Regions from separate parts of the Homo sapiens genome. Here region 1 is linked to region 2. The links are contacts of gene promoters, found by promoter capture Hi-C in blood cells and fetal thymus (Javierre and others, 2016). All regions are on one chromosome and are shown on one strand. Each heading gives the region's core, a stretch centred on a gene start or on the middle of the fragment in contact. The rest is flanking DNA. Distances are from core to core; before and after follow the strand shown. Region 1 holds the start of WFDC1 (WAP four-disulfide core domain 1). Region 2 holds the start of ADAD2-AS1 (ADAD2 antisense RNA 1).

The links. The method cuts DNA at HindIII sites, captures the fragments that hold promoters and counts their contacts. A CHiCAGO score of 5 or more calls a contact.
Region 1: the fragment with the promoter of WFDC1 here is called in contact with the fragment with the promoter of ADAD2-AS1 in region 2 in 1 of 17 cell types (endothelial precursors); the score reaches 5.3 in endothelial precursors.

What each region holds. Positions count from the first base shown.
Region 1 is chr16:84,293,364-84,300,595 of GRCh38, reverse strand. It overlaps WFDC1 (WAP four-disulfide core domain 1), which reads right to left and starts at 5,718. Exons shown (of 7, transcript NM_021197.4): 1 at 5,481-5,718. The coding sequence starts at 5,624. LOC124903734 reads right to left here. Exons shown (of 6, transcript XM_047435022.1): 5 at 6,961-7,079; 6 at 5,758-6,263. The coding sequence ends at 5,758. The HindIII fragment of the contact is 4,383 bases long and covers 1,750-6,132 here.
Region 2 is chr16:84,193,697-84,201,347 of GRCh38, reverse strand. It overlaps ADAD2-AS1 (ADAD2 antisense RNA 1), which reads left to right and starts at 4,295. Exons shown (of 5, transcript NR_147175.1): 1 at 4,295-4,466; 2 at 5,907-6,087; 3 at 6,192-6,303; 4 at 6,623-6,959; 5 at 7,042-7,651. ADAD2 (adenosine deaminase domain containing 2) reads right to left here. Exons shown (of 10, transcript NM_001145400.2): 2 at 6,766-6,906; 3 at 6,368-6,415; 4 at 6,154-6,279; 5 at 5,902-6,052; 6 at 5,651-5,818; 7 at 5,304-5,533; 8 at 4,978-5,221; 9 at 4,581-4,701; 10 at 4,182-4,478. The coding sequence ends at 4,374. RefSeq lists enhancers at 5,065-5,687, 5,843-7,042. The HindIII fragment of the contact is 32,016 bases long and covers 1-7,651 here.

The DNA of each region.
Region 1 (7,232 bases), core at 4,469-6,968, 98 kb before region 2:
ATGAACCTGTTTCCAAAAAAGGTCACATTCACAAGGATCAGAAGTTAGGGGTTGGATATATCTTTGGGGGGACACAGTTCAACCCACAGCATGGATCCGACAGGATTCGAGTGCAGGGAGTACATTTGGGAGGGGATCCCAGGAAGCCCCAGCTGGGGAGTGGGAAGCTGGGCAGGAAAGGGAAGGCGCCCTTCAGGGAGTGTTAATGAGCAGGTGGCTGCCTGGGCACTAGAGCTCAAACCCAGTGGACCTTGGAGAAACCGTGTGGAACACTCCTCACTCGTGTCCCACCAAAGTTGAGAAGCCAGCTGGGCCATCGGGCTCCAGCTCCATTTGCTCCTACAGGTGTTACCTCCCCGGCACCTTGGCCTGACTGTGTGTGGGCTGAGCAGGCTCCTGCAGCCAGAGAAAGCCTTCAGGCCAGCAGACACAGATGCTTACGGTACAAAGATGAAGGTGAAGGTCAGAACTCATGGAATGGTGAAAGCACAGCTCCAGGCCATCTGCTTCTCCCACTCTTGCTATCTCAGCAAAAAATAAAAGGATGTTTGGAAGGCTCTCAAGAGCTCACAGAAATAATGGGGGAAAGGAGATGGGGAACTGAGGAATGCAAGTTGTGGGCCACTGCTGGCTCCTACAGTCCCCTACTGCTATTAGCACAGGGGGTGCCTCCAGATAGACAATGCAATGCTCCCCTCCCTCCCCCCGTCTGGCAGGATGCATTTGAAAGAGAAAGTGGCACCAGCTCCTGGCTGCTCTAGCCCCTCCCAGCCCCCCTCAGCAGGACAGGCATCTCTGGGCAGGGTGCAAACTGAACCACCATTTCCAGCTGCCCTGGAGGGGTGCTTAGAGGGGAAAACAGACCCACAGTCACACTGACAGTAGGGGCCAGCCTGCCCAGGCCAGGGGCTGCATAGCACCGAGGCCCGCATGGTGGCTGCCATGGGCCCCACCCGGTGGATTTGTCGAGAGGCTCCCAAGAGCGAATACGTGGCAAACTCTTGCCCTGACACAGTGTAAGCGCTCAGTAAATCATTGTTCTCAGGAGTTTCATCTAATGCCAGGAAAGAAAAACCAAAAACACCAAGTCCACAGAACCGACTGAGCTCCATGGAAAGGTTATTGGACTATTTACAAACGTTCTGCTTCTGTTTTATTCATTCTCATAAATATTTGGTTCTGGAATGGGGTTTTTGGTTTTTTTTTTTTGCTTTTTGTTTTTTGTTTTTTGAGATGGAGTTGCGCTCTTCTTGCCCAGGCTGGAATCCAATGGCACGATCTCGGCTCACCGCAACCTCCGCCTCCCAGGGTTCAAGCAATTCTCCTACCTCAGCCTCCCGAGTAGCTGGGATTACAGGCATGCGCCACCATGCCCGGCTAATTTTTTTTGTATTTTTAGTACAGACGGGGTTTCTCCATGTTGGTCAGGCTGGTTTTGAACTCCCGACCTCAGGAGATCTGCCTGCCTTGGCCTCCCAAAGTGCTGGGATTACAGGCATGAGCCACTGTGAGCCACTGTGCCCGGCCTGGAATGGGTTTTTAAATCTGTCCGTAGTGCACATGTAGGGAATGCAGTTCTGTGCCAGTCAGGGAACTGTGGGCTCTATGGTCTTTTTACTGAGCCCTGCAAAGCAGGCACTACTGTGTCCCGTGCTGCAGATGAGGAAACCGAGGCTCAGATAGGAGAAGGAAACTCCTGAAGGTCTTAGAGATAGAAGGCGGGAGACCCGGCACTTCTCATTAGAAGCTTCTCCTAAGGGCCTCCCACGGGAATGGAAGGCAAGCGTGCTCATCTCTGGCACTGTCTCTGCATGCTTAGACCAAGAAGCATAAACAGCACTCAGGACATTAACCGGCCCCACTCTAAGAGACCAGTCCGCTACACAAAACTCACTCTGCCGGGGGACGAGGCTTTGAGAGACTAGAGCAGGCTACAGGCAGCCCTGCGCTTGGTCAGGACTGAACCACCAGCTCTCCTCATGTAGCCCTGGCCAATTTCCAAGGTGTAAATACTCCCAGCATGGTTGATTTCAGGCAACCCACGTGAGGCCACTGAATGGGAGTGGGAAGAGATGTGGAGTAGCTTCTCTCCTGGTCATACCACACGGATGCAAAAGACATAAAACCCCAGGAGCCAAGAGAATAGCAAAACGGAGCAATACAATTGGAAAGTGATGCATTTCTAACAAGAAGTATTTCCTGGCTGGGTGCGGTGGCTCACACCTATAATCCCAGCACTTTGGGAGGCCGAGGCGGGCGGATCACCTGAGCTCAGGAGTTTGAGACCAGCAAAACCCCATCTCTACTAAAAATACAAAAAATTAGCCAGGCGTGGTGGTACATGCCTGTAATCCCAACTACTCAGGAGGCCTAGGCACAAGAATCACTTGAGCCGGGGAGGTGGAGGTTGTAGTGAACCAAGATCACACCACGGGACTCTGTCTTAAAAAAAAAAAATTCTTTCCTTTCTTTTTAATACAAATGATTTAACTGTAAGTTTATATAACTTAGTTTGTGATCATGGCTGTGTGGAACAAAACTGGCTCTCCAGAGGGGGTGCAAGCCAGTTCAGCACACAGCCAGCATCTCCTCACTCTGACGAGCCCATAGCCCTTGAGGGTCAGGGCCAAGGCTGAAGGTCTCACTCAGCGTAGGGTGAGGGAGTGGTGCCTCACGGGGAAGTCTCGACTTTGTGCATGTGGGGGCTGCTTCCTATCATCCGTAAGTCCCTGTCGAACGAAAGGGCCATGAAAGTCATAGGTTCTCCATCTTCATTTCCCAGGTGAGGACTGAGGACCAGAGAAGGGCAGCGAGTGGTCCAAGATTGCACAGCACATTAGAGATTTCACTGTGATAAGTTCCAGGCCAGGTGCTCTTCCCAGCCCTCCCTGTCCTCTGAGCCACAGGCGAACAGCCTGTCTTCGCCCAGGGCTTTCTCTGAGGCACAGTTTTTTTTTTTTTTTTTTTTTTTTTTTTTTGAGACAGAGTTTCACTCTTGTTGCCCAGGCTGGAGTGCAATGGCACAATCTCGGCTCACTATAACCTCCACCTCCCGGGTTCAAGCAATTCTTCCACCTCAGCCTTCTGAGTAGCTGGGATTACAGGCATTTGCCGCCACACCCAGCTAATTTTGTATTTTTAGTAGAGATGGGGTTTCACCATGTTGGTCAGGCTGGTCTTGAACTCCTGACCTCAGGTGATCCACCCGCCTCGGCCTCCCAAAGTGCTGGGATTACAGGCATGAGCCACCGTGCCTGGCTGGCACAGTTGTTCTGCATAAACCTCACCTATGTCTAGGCGCTGAGGAAGGAGGCCAATATCTGTTGATAACCAGGGAAAGTTTCAATTCAGCGAGGAGCCAATTCAAAGCACTTGCATCCTGACCAGTGGTGGCTACAAGTGAATCAGCTCCTGCAGCCCACCCAGGCCTGTGTTTTAGAGACTCCCCCAAATCCCCCGCGCATATCAACCCTGACCCTCCTATGTGGATGTCACAGTGCTGGCTCCTATGACATCTTGGGACATGGTGGAGATAAAATCAGATGACATATTGGCAATCTCTCTATGGTTGTAGAACCAAAGTGCTACTAACTACAGTTGAGGGTTAAATCATCCTGTTGCACCAGAGAAGAGCATGGAGGAGTCAATAAAATCTGAGAAGAGTCTCTCACCCCTCCTCAATGCCTCCCCTCTGGCCAGGTCTGGTCTCCCAAGCAGCTCTTAGATGCACCACTTCTGCCTGTGAGCCTCGGCTCATGCTGAGCCTTCTTCCAGGAATTTCCTTCCTCCTCCTAATTCCTAATCCTTCCCCAAGATCCAGTCAAGGTCTCCACCTCCTCCAGGAAGCCTTAGGTGACTACACCATCTCACATGAGCTTTCCCTTCTCCAAGCGCCTCATCATGTCACTCTACTACTCTTTCCACTTCTCGAAGTCCTCCTGTCTCCCGCCACGAGCATGTGCCGAACATGGAGAATATGAGCCCTGGAGGCCCAGATTTGTCTCAATACAGTTTCAGGCACCCCACTATGCCTGGGGTCATTAATCATTCTCCCTTCCCTCTTCTCCAGCTGGCAAACTCCTATTTATCCTTTAAAGCCACAGGTCCACTGTCCCCAACCCTAAAAACCCTGTCTGACTCTCCTGGGGAAGAGCTGCACACGCATCCCGTGCTACCACTGCAGCCGCTCATAATTCACCCACAAGAATGTACCAGGCGTCAACTTAATGGCAGGCACCAGGGGCACACATTAGTGAAACAGAACCCTGCCCTACCCCAAGGAACCTACATGCTACCCTGTTAGGCAACACCAAACAAAGTCACAATTATTTGATTGAAAGCTGCCAAGATGCACTGCCAGCTTGCTATGTTGCAAAGACGTTCTACATACTGAGACATTCAATCCTCACACAGGTGCTGTGGGTGCCAGCATTACCTTCTTGAGCCCTCTGTGTGCTGATATCGTCCTGGCTCACTCCGTCCCTGCGGATCTGTGATCTCTGGGGGGTGGGAGGAACCAAAAATGATAGCCTCCTCCACCCCATTCTCTCTCCTAGTTCCCTTCCTGCTTTATTGCTTCCTCAGCACTTGCAATCTGCACATACTAATAAATGAGATCTCTCTCATTTATTCTTTGCTGCCCCCAGCCCCCCATTGAGTTCCCCAGGCAGAGATGTGAGGCCTGTATCCCCACAGCCTAGGACAGTACCTGGTAAACAGTGGCGACCCAGACATAGTTGTGTGAAGAAATGCATCCCTCTGTCTTTTGCAGATGAGATTGCTGGGGTTCAGAGACGTCAAGCAGCTTGCCTGAGAGAAGCCACGCAGCTAATGAGCAGCAGAGCCCGATTCACACCCAGACATCTGGCCCCAGGGCATGTGTTTCTTGCCACTCACTGCCTCATGCCTTCTCTTTGTACTGCCATCGTTTGTCACCCAACTGCCTCTGCACCTCGGCCACGCCACCCTTGAGGATGGGGGCTGGTACCTCCTTTATCTTGTATCCACAGGACCCCACAGAGTGCCTTCCCCAGAGCGGTTTCTGCTAAATTCTGTTTAACAGAGTGTATTCATTCTGTTTGCTGAATGAATAAACAACCACATGAATGCATAAGTGTATTTCACAAACATTTGGTACTGATCAGGGAGACGGAATGCTCCGTTTAAATCCTGGGGTTCCGAAATGAGATGCTGTCTTTCAGGAGCAAGCATACTTTTGTAACAAGGCAAAAGTAAGGCACGATTCTTTGGCACATTTGTGATGTGTCTTTTGCCTCTTGATTCACAGATAAGGGTCCTTTTTTGGGGGTGAGCCCCATCTGCCCACCACACAACTCAGACACACACGGATAGGAAGACGCCTGCCTTGCCACGTTTTGGGGGAGCACTTACAGGAGAAGGCAGTGTCTAGGGATCGCCTCTCCTCAAGGCTGACTCCCACCCACACAGGCTGCCCCAGCCTCCCCATCCCAGGCACTTACACGGGATTTCTCGGCCAGCCTCGCAGGCAATGCCCGTTTCCAGATATTCTTGGCAGAGCCGGCGTGGAGGAGAAGTAGCAAGAGGCACAGAGCCCGGATGATCTGCCTCCTGCAGCTGCCCGGCCCCACGCCGGTTAAAGGCATTTCCTCCCTGGGCAGCGACCTTCCAGACGCACACAGAAGAGGGGCCCCCCTCGCTGCGTGGGCCTGTGAGTGGGGACAGGAGCGTGCACAGTCTGCTGGACTTTCTTAGTTCCACCCAGCAGGGTCCCTCGGATCATGTGTCCGCGTCCAGCACATGCCCCTTCCTCGATGGTGGCTGGCCTGCCCGGTTATTTTTAGCTTGCCCTATAACATCTGGCCCCAGACGCTCCAACCAGGGCGTCTGCAGCCCAGGCAGCTCAGTGGGCGGTGGCAGCAGGAGGAGGGGGCACCGGCTTGCTTGGAGACGTGGCCGGGAGTGGCCTGTCACTCTCCACTCTCCATAATGAGCACTTCCTTGCAGGCTGGGGCGGTCTCCTCCCAAGGAGGTGTGCTTGACACAGGGCTCGGGGCTGGACATGCAGGGGAGTGCAGCCGGATGGGTGGGGGCTCGGCTGCTACCTTGTTCACATTTCGAGCTGGGCTGACAAACTATCTGCCTATAAAAGCTTCTTTGAAAGAGGCTGCTGGACTGGCACTGGCCAAGGGTGCAGCCATGAAGAGACGACTTCCACCCTTGCACCCGCCGGGGTCCTCCTGCCTGATGTGGGCATGTGGGTAGTTCCTCATAGCGTGTGTTTCCTGTGAGATTTAAAAGAAATTGAGCACATAAAGCATTTCACACACATAAGTGTGCTGTCACTGTCAGCCGGTGTATCTGCACATGTGCATTTATGTGTATGCGTGTGTGCACGTGGGTGTGCATGTGCACGTGTGTGTTTTACAGGAATGTAGCACAGCGGGCTCAACATTTCACAAACTTCATATTCCCTTGTCTGTTCTCAGCACTTCCAAGACAGATACTGGTTTTTTGTTTTGTTTTGTTTTTCGAGACGGGTCTTGCTCTGTCACCCACGCTGGAGTGCAGTGGTGTGATCACAGATCACTACAACCTCTGCCTCCCGGGTTCAAGCGATTCTCCTGTCTCGGCCTTCCAAGTAGCTGGGATAACAGGCATGTGCCACCATGCCTGGCTAATTTTTGTATTTTTAGTGGAGACTGGGTTTCACCATGCTGGCCAGGCTGGTCTCAAACTCCTGACCTTAAGTGATCTGCCCGCCTCAGCCTCCCAAAGTGCTGGTATTACAGGTGTGTGAGCCACCACACCCGGCCCCAAAACAGACACTGTTTTGATGCCCGCTTTACAGATGAGGAAACAGAGGGGGCTGCCTGAGGTCATGCAACAGCAGCAGAGAGGAGGCTGGAACCCAGGTAGGTCAGACCCTGTGGCACCCCCCTAGGCGAAGCAGAAGGGACCCAAGCACTAGGCTTGACGCACCTGCCTGATCCCAGTTCAGCCTCTGCGAGATGCTGGAAAGCCTCTTGCTCATGGTCCTCAGTTCTCTCATCTGTGAAATGGGCATGTGAAAGTCTCTGCCTCTTGAGATCGATGTGGGGCTACAGGAGAGGGTGCCAGCTGTGCCCAGCACTTGCACAGAGTGAGTGCTCCAGAAAGATTGGTTCCTCCCTCCCTGGGGACCCTCACCCCCCACCTCCTGGCCAGCACAGCCTTCAGAATGCCCTGGGCAGGTATCATCAACCCCTCTTGGC
Region 2 (7,651 bases), core at 3,046-5,545:
AGTATATCCTCCCATTCTGTGAGTTTTCTTTTCACTTTGTTGATGGTACCCTTTGAAACACAAAGGGTTTTATTTCGATGGAGTCCCAATTTCTCTATTTTTTCATTTATCATGATGCTTTTGATGACATATCTAAGAAAGTTTTGCCTAACTCAAGGTCATAAAATTTTACTATTATGTTTTCTTCTGAGAGTTTCGCAGTTTTGGCTCTTGTGTTAGGTGTGTGATCCAATTTGAGTTAATGTTTGTGCATGGCACAGAGGGAAGGGTACTTCATCCTGCTGCCTCTGGATACCCAGGAAAATCGATTTTAAAAATATCTTTTAGGTCGGGCGCGGTGGCGTATGCCTGTATTCCCAGCACTTTGGGAGGCCGAGGCGGGTGGATCACTTGAGGCCAGGAGCTTGAGAACAGCCTGGCCTACATGGTGAAAACCCATCTCTACTAAAAATACAAAAATTAGTCAGATATGGTGGCGGGCACCTGTAGTCCCAGCTACTCAGGAGGCTGAAGTAGGAGAATCACTTGAACCCGGGAGGCTGAGATTGCAATGAGACGAGATCGTTCCATTGTACCCCAGCCTGGGCGACAGATAGATAGATAAATCTCAAATATATATGTATCTTTTAAAACTATAATTTTTAAAAAGGTAATTTCACCACTAAACCATGAGGCAAGGTAACAATTTACTTTCCTCTAGACTCTCACTAACTTTTCTCTAGATTCTCACTGACTGCTCCAGGGCATAGGAAAAGGGCTCAGAGCACAGTGGAAATTTTCAAAGTGTCTTCTACAGGGTTTTGAGGACGGGGTTTCTGGTCTCTCTCTATATAGGGGTAGGTTACACTCCTGCAAGTGATCCTCTAACTAATTTTCCATTCAGTGCTTGTTTGTTGGGCACCTTCTATGTGGGAGACCCCCCCAGGAGGAGATGGAGATAAATGCACAAGGCCCCATGCTGGGAGCTGATGGCAGATAGGCCTGATGACAGTCACTGCTGAGGGCTGCCGAGAGAGCCAAGAACAGTGCCAGGCACGCTTCCCCCCTCATCTCACCATGGCCCTGCAGGCTGCATGTCTGTGATCCTGTCTCAGTTGGCAAGTGGGGAAGCTGAGGACTGGGGAGGCAGAGTGGCGCCTTGGCTTCCCAGAGACTTCCCAGGTCCACACTTCCACTCGGCACACTCTGTCCCAGAGTGAAGACAACACATGGGTCAGCACGGAACAGAGGGTGCCCTGAGCTGCAGGAGGAAGTGACGGGATGGCACTCGGAGGAGGCAGCACTTGTGCCAAGTGAGATTACATCACTTCCCAATTCAAATATGCTACTGTTGGTAAAACTTACACCCAGAGGAGATGCGGCCAACTAGACATTAACAGATCCGCATTTCAGAAGTAGCTTTCATCATCACCCCGCAGTAATGAACAAGCTGAGTCAAAAGAACTGAGCGACTCTGATGTCACGAAAAGACTGTCTTGGGAGGAAAGCACTGGACAAGCAGATGTATGCAACGTGGGGACAAATATTACTGATTTGGCGGAACACAACAGAGTTAATGTCGATTTGAAAAACTTGTTTATCCAGTGATTATGTGATTAATGAACACCAAAAGGCTCATTGCATCAAACTGAAATTGGAAATGGCTGGTATATTTCCAGATTTGGTTGTAGTTACTACTACAGTACAAAAAGTAAATCAATGTAAACTATTTCCTGGGGAAAACAATGTGTAATACACAGGCTAATAGGCTTGGGTGTTCTTAAACCCCCCTCTCTTAATCCCTGAAAAAAAAGAGCCACGAGAAATCATTATTTCAAGGTTGGCCTGAGAAGTGTTTTCTGTTTTTTTGTTTTTTTAAAAAACCAAAAACTAAAGGTAAAAATCCTTGTCTTCTCAAACAAGAAATCGGTGCTTTCCTGGCTTTCCCGGCCCCGCGGACCCTTCCTGCTGGTGCAAACGCCTCTCTCTGTAGTCCTCCTCCCTCAGCAAGGGCTCACCTCCTGTCCTTTGCACATGTGAATTGCAGCTCCTCCTGCCTCTCAGCTCCCCTCTCCGGCCCTCCCGCCTGCCGTTTTCCCAGCCTGATGCCCCCAGCTCCAGACTCGCCTCCCCGCAGGCTGCCAGCCTGCAGCTCTTCCCTGTAATAGCACTGGGCATCCTCCTGACCTCCTGCAGCAGTCGGGAAAGAGCAGAGCAGAGAACGCGAGGGAACCTTAGGAAGGATATCACCTAGTCCTTGTTTTATAAATGAGCAAACTGGGGCTCAGAGAGGTTCAGAGTTTCATCCAAGGTCACGTAAGGAAATCCAGCTGCAGCCCTGGGTGGTGGCTGCAATCGAAGGGCTTGGAAGCCTGGCGGCCTGCACATCACCACAGCTCCAGCCCACCTCAGGTGCTGGGTGTTCTAGAAGTTACCTAACTGCACCTTGCCAGTTTCCTCACCTGTACACTGAGGCAATGATCGCATCTATCATGGCAAGCTGTGGGAGGTTAAAACAGAACAGACACACCATGCTTCAGGCGTGCTGGAGTTGTCTAGTCTGTCCACTGGTGCTGTTTCCTCTACCCCACCTCCCTCAGATTCTCCCATTTCATCGTCACTGTGGGGAAAGGAGACAGGATGAGCCCAGCGAAAGCAGACGGAAAGCCCAGGCCTGCAGATGGGCAGGCTGGCCAAGAACACACCCCTGGGACCAGCCCTCTGATTATTTCTCTAGATGAGTCAACCTACAAGCACGGAGGTTAAGTGGCTGCCCGTGGCCACGGCCACACACACCCAGTGGCAGAGACAAAAGGGGGTTGGAGGGAGAGGACCCAATCGCACGACTTCAACATTAGGCCTGGCCCTGAGTGACAGCTCTGGAGTGAGCTGTCTGCATCGGTCAGGGTTCTCCAGAGAAACAGAACCAACAGGATATATAGAGATGTATTGCGAGGCATTGACCCACACGATACGGAGTCGAAGCAGTCCCACCATTTGCTGTGTGAGTGCTGGGGGCCCACGTGGTGGCGTTCTAGTCCAAACTCGAAGGCCTGAGAACTGGGAGAACCAATGTTATGAGTCCTGGTCCAAGTCTGAAGGCCAGAGACCCAGGAGTTGTGATGTCCCAGCTCAAGGGGAGAGAGCGAATTCACCTTCCTCTGCTTGCTTGTTGTTTGCAGGCCCTCAGTGGATTGGATGGTGCCTGCCTGCACTGGGGAGCGCCATCTTCTTACTCAGCCCCATAATTAGATGCTAATCCCTCCCAGAGACACCCCACATGGGAGAGTAGCCTGTGGTTCTGAACCCTGCAACTGCTAGGGATGCAGGGAGGGAGTCACAGGGTGGGGGTCACAGGGCTGGCCACGGTCCTCTACTGTCCCTGGCCCCAGGTCCCTGGACTTCAAAGCTGTTGTGCTCCTGGCTCAACGGCTATAGTGCCCATGCTGGTGAGGTTCCAGGTGTGTGTGCGAGTGTGCACGCACACATGCTTTTAGTGTTACCATCTTCTCTCCCCATCCAGAGTCAACAGAGTGCCTGAGTGCCATGTGGCCTTACTATGCTACCCTGGGGGAAACGGAGAGAGAACTGCCGAGCCCACACAGGGCAGGAGCACTGTCCCTCTCCATGGTGGAAGACGCAGGCTCTAGCGGTCCAATGCCTCGCCCAGGTCCAACAGCCGGGCGGCCCAGGGAAAGCACTGATGCTGCTCATGCCCTCCCCACGCCCTTCAACATGGGGCTGCCCAGACCCCACAGCACCCTCGAGGGCCAGGGCAGCTAAAGCTCTGACCAGGGAAGGGTGTTCTCTGCCCTCCCACACATCCTGGGGGCCCAGAAAGGCAAGGATTTGGAGCCCCAATAGCGGCCAGAGGACAAAATGCTCACACATCCAAGCAGCCTGCCCTCCCACCCTTTACAACACCCGCAACCCGTGGCCTCCGTGGTCTCCTCCAGCACACAGGCTGGAAAACAGGAGGAACCAGGGGAGGTCACCTCCCCTCCTAAACCTGCCTCCAGCCCTGTGAACAGGGGCGGGGGTGACAATTCAGTGGCTCAGTGAGAGGATCCAGGTGGGAACCCAGTGAACACAGGGCCTCCCAAAGGAGGAGTGAGGGGCTCTCTCCGCAAACAAAGGGCCCCTGGCCACCCCAACACATAAACACACACACACACACACACACAGCCAACTACACACACAGGAACCAGAAATACTTCTTTATTCAAGCCCAAACGTGCAGCAGCCGCCTCCCAACCACAGCAGGCTCCTCCTTCCCTCCAGCCCCAGTTTCACCCCGCACAACCCATGTTCTCCCCACAACGCTCCTCAGATAGGGCACTCCCCCAGCAGGGGTACAGCTTGGCTCCGGGACCTCGGTCCCGCCGAGGCTGGCTTCAGTTTCTGAATTTGCCCACCAGTGGCTTCGAGGGCCAAGCCCCCAGGCCCTGCTGGTCCAGGAGGAGAGACAGCTGCCTGCGAGCCTCCTGGTAGGGCCCAGCCTAGGGCGGGAGATGAGAGGTGGGGTGAGAGGAGGTACCTGCAGGGGGCAGGGACTGCAGGGCTGGAGAGGGACCGGGACGGGGGGAGGGTGGGGAACCAACCTTGGCAGCCTCGTAGGTCTTCAAGGCCAGGAGGTAGGGCTTCCCCACAGCCCTGGCCGCCTGGTGAAAGGCCCGGAGAAAGGAGGCCTTGCAGAGACGGGAGGGAGGCCCCAGGGCGGCACTGGATGAAGAGAGGATACCACTGAGATCAGAGAGATACAAGCTGGACCAGCAGGCCTGCTACACACCTCACACTACCTCCTCTCACACTGTGACAATGTCACAGGACTCACAGGGCAGACAGAGGTGTGGCCACCACTACGGAGCTAGGAAGGGGTTGAGCGAAGGGGTTGAGCGAAGGGGTTGCGCTGGGATTAGACTGAGGTGAGGAAGCTCATGCATGAGCCCTCCATCACCAGCACTGCTCCACAGCCCGGCCCCAGGGGGCCCTTCTCACTTGGCCTTCACACGCCCGGTGGCCACATCCACAACCTCGATGCCAGGGTCCCCCAGGCTCCAGTTGAGGCTCAGGCCACGGCAGGTGTCAGGGGTGGGTTCGGAAGGGGCCACCGGGGGCCCTGCAAACAGGTGCAGGGCGGTCCGGACGTAGGGAGGTGGCAGGCATGGCCCCAGGACACTGTCCAGGCAGGGCCGGGTGTGGATGGCCCTGCTCAGAGTCGGAGGGTCGTGGCATGAGTCAGCTGCAGGGCAGAAGGGACAGGACAAGGTGAGTGACCTCCCTGCCCTCCCTTCTCACCCCCCCAGCCCTCACCACGTGCTCACCCAGGATGAGGCTGGTGCTGTAGAGTGGGGACACCAGGTGGGCCAGCAGGGCACCACCCAGCCCCAGCACGGCCCAGCGTGCCAGCTTGTCACTGGCTGACAGGCAGCCCACGTGGGTGTCACAGAGCGAGGGCGCCACGTAGCACACAGGCTTCAGCTGCCCGAGCACATGGGCCTGCAGGCGCATGGGTGGGCTGTGCGGGAGGCCACCTTCCGAGGTGGGGGGCAGGCTGCGGGCCGGGTGGGGACAGACATCAGCTTCAGGGCTGCTCTTCTGACCCTGGCCCCCACCCAGCAGCCCAACCGAGGGAGCCCCATCCCCCGCCTGCCCCGGGGGCCCTGCATACTAGATGTCACGGGCCGCGCCCTTGGGGGTGTTGCTGATGTAGAGGTGCAGGAAGACGCGGGGCTTGAGGGTGAATGGGGGTCCGGGCCCTGGCTGGGGGGCCAGCACGGACTGCTCCTTGCCCTTGGGGCCCCCCTGTGTGGCCAGCAGGAGCTGCCGGAACAAGAACCTAGGAGCGACAGGCACAGGGTGGTTGGGAAGACCTTGTCCTGGCGAAGGCTGCTATCAGGCGCCCACCCCACTGCCCCTCACCTCAGCAGGGCCCTGCGGGCGATGACCAGGCCATGGCAGTCGTGGAGCTGCTGGCCCGAGAACTCCAGCCAGCCAGCACAGCAGCTGCTGCCGGTGCCCAGAGCCACCAGCTTGTAGATCTCCTTCACGTGGCCCCTGGCACGCGGGATCTCTGTGCAGGAGGGGGCAGAGACGGCCCAGCCTAAGGCAAGGAGCTTGAGGGGGCCCTTCCCAGGGGGCCGGGGCCAGGGCCAGGGCTGGGGCGATCCCTACCCCTCTCCAGGATGACTCCAGCCACAGTCCCCTTACAGGCCCAGTATGGCGAGCGCTCGTCCAACAGGAGGTCAAAGCCGGCGCTCACCAACGCTGCGCAGCGCTGCTCATGGGTCAGGATGTTCTCTGCGCCAGGGCGAGAGACTGCAGGTAGAAGGGGGCCCACGCCTCTCCCCTCGACACTACAAGCCTGGGTCCGGGAATGCTCACCTACCTACGCTCAGGGGGGCCAGTGGAGGCCGGCTGGAGGTCTGGGGGGACTCTGAAAGAGGCAAGGAGGGCGGGCTGGTGTGGGTGCCAAGGCCCACCCTCCGTCCCTCAGGAAGCCAAGGAGGCGGGGAGAGGAAGTTTTCATCTTCCAGACACAGGACATTACACGAGCTGCTCTTCTAGCGGTCCCTACCCCCGGTGTCCCCAGAGGACGTGAAAGCAGGGACCGGCACATGTACCCCGCCCCAGCTCCCTGCAGGTGACGTCCTGATGCTCAGATGGTTTGTACAGCAACCCACCTCCTGCTCACACGCACAGCCACTTCCGCCTCCCCACGGGACTGCCAGCCTCAGTCCTCTTGTCCCCAGCTGCGGCTCAGCTGCCTGGCCCTCCCTCCATTACCTGGGTTCTCCAGCTGACTCCGGATGTAGCAGAGGGCAGAGAGCGCTGCCTGCTGTTTGGCCTCCGTCTTGCTATTCGCAGTGCCCGCAGGGCAGACCACCCCATCCAGTTCCGCGCTCACCGAGAAGGGGAAGCAGGGACCTGGGGAAGGAGCCAGGTGAGGAAGCAGCCCCCTGGCCTTCGCCCTGTGACAGGTACCACCTCTGCCTCCTCCTGACACCTGATATCGAGGACGGTCAGAATAATGAGACCCTCACCACCCTTCCCTTCCTCCAGCAGGCTCCATCGCCACCCCATGCCGCGCACACCCTTGAGTGCCTCTGCAGGCTGTGACCCATCGCTGATTCAACCAAGTCCTCACCCAACTCCTCCACAGCAGGGATGCGTGACTCCATTTCACAGATGAGCAGAAACGGCAGGCGGTTTGCCCAACTTGAGTCAGGACCCAAATCCAGGTCCCCTCTCCAGAGCCCACGCCACCCTGTTCTCAGGAGGAAGGCTCTGAGCACTTCCACCTGCCACAGACACATTGCTTTCAATTCCTCTCCTCCAGGGGCTCTATATTTGAACACTTTTCCTATGAAACAGTATCATTTTGGGTGTTACTTATAACACAAAAGAGAGATGAAAAATCTGGAACTGGGATCACATGGTCAAAGGTGCAGGGTTAATTTCACAGTACTTGCTGCTAAATTGTTTCTCCCAAGGACTGCCCCTCTGGGGGTTTCCCTTTTGGAAGGGAACCCATTTCAGCACTCCCCACTGCGCTGAGATCTGTCTGCTCTAAACAGGCATCAAAACCAGCAACCACAGACAGACGTGGAAGGGATGTTGGCCTTAGAAAGCCAGCATGTGGCTGCCATCCTAACAGCGACTGAATCTGGGG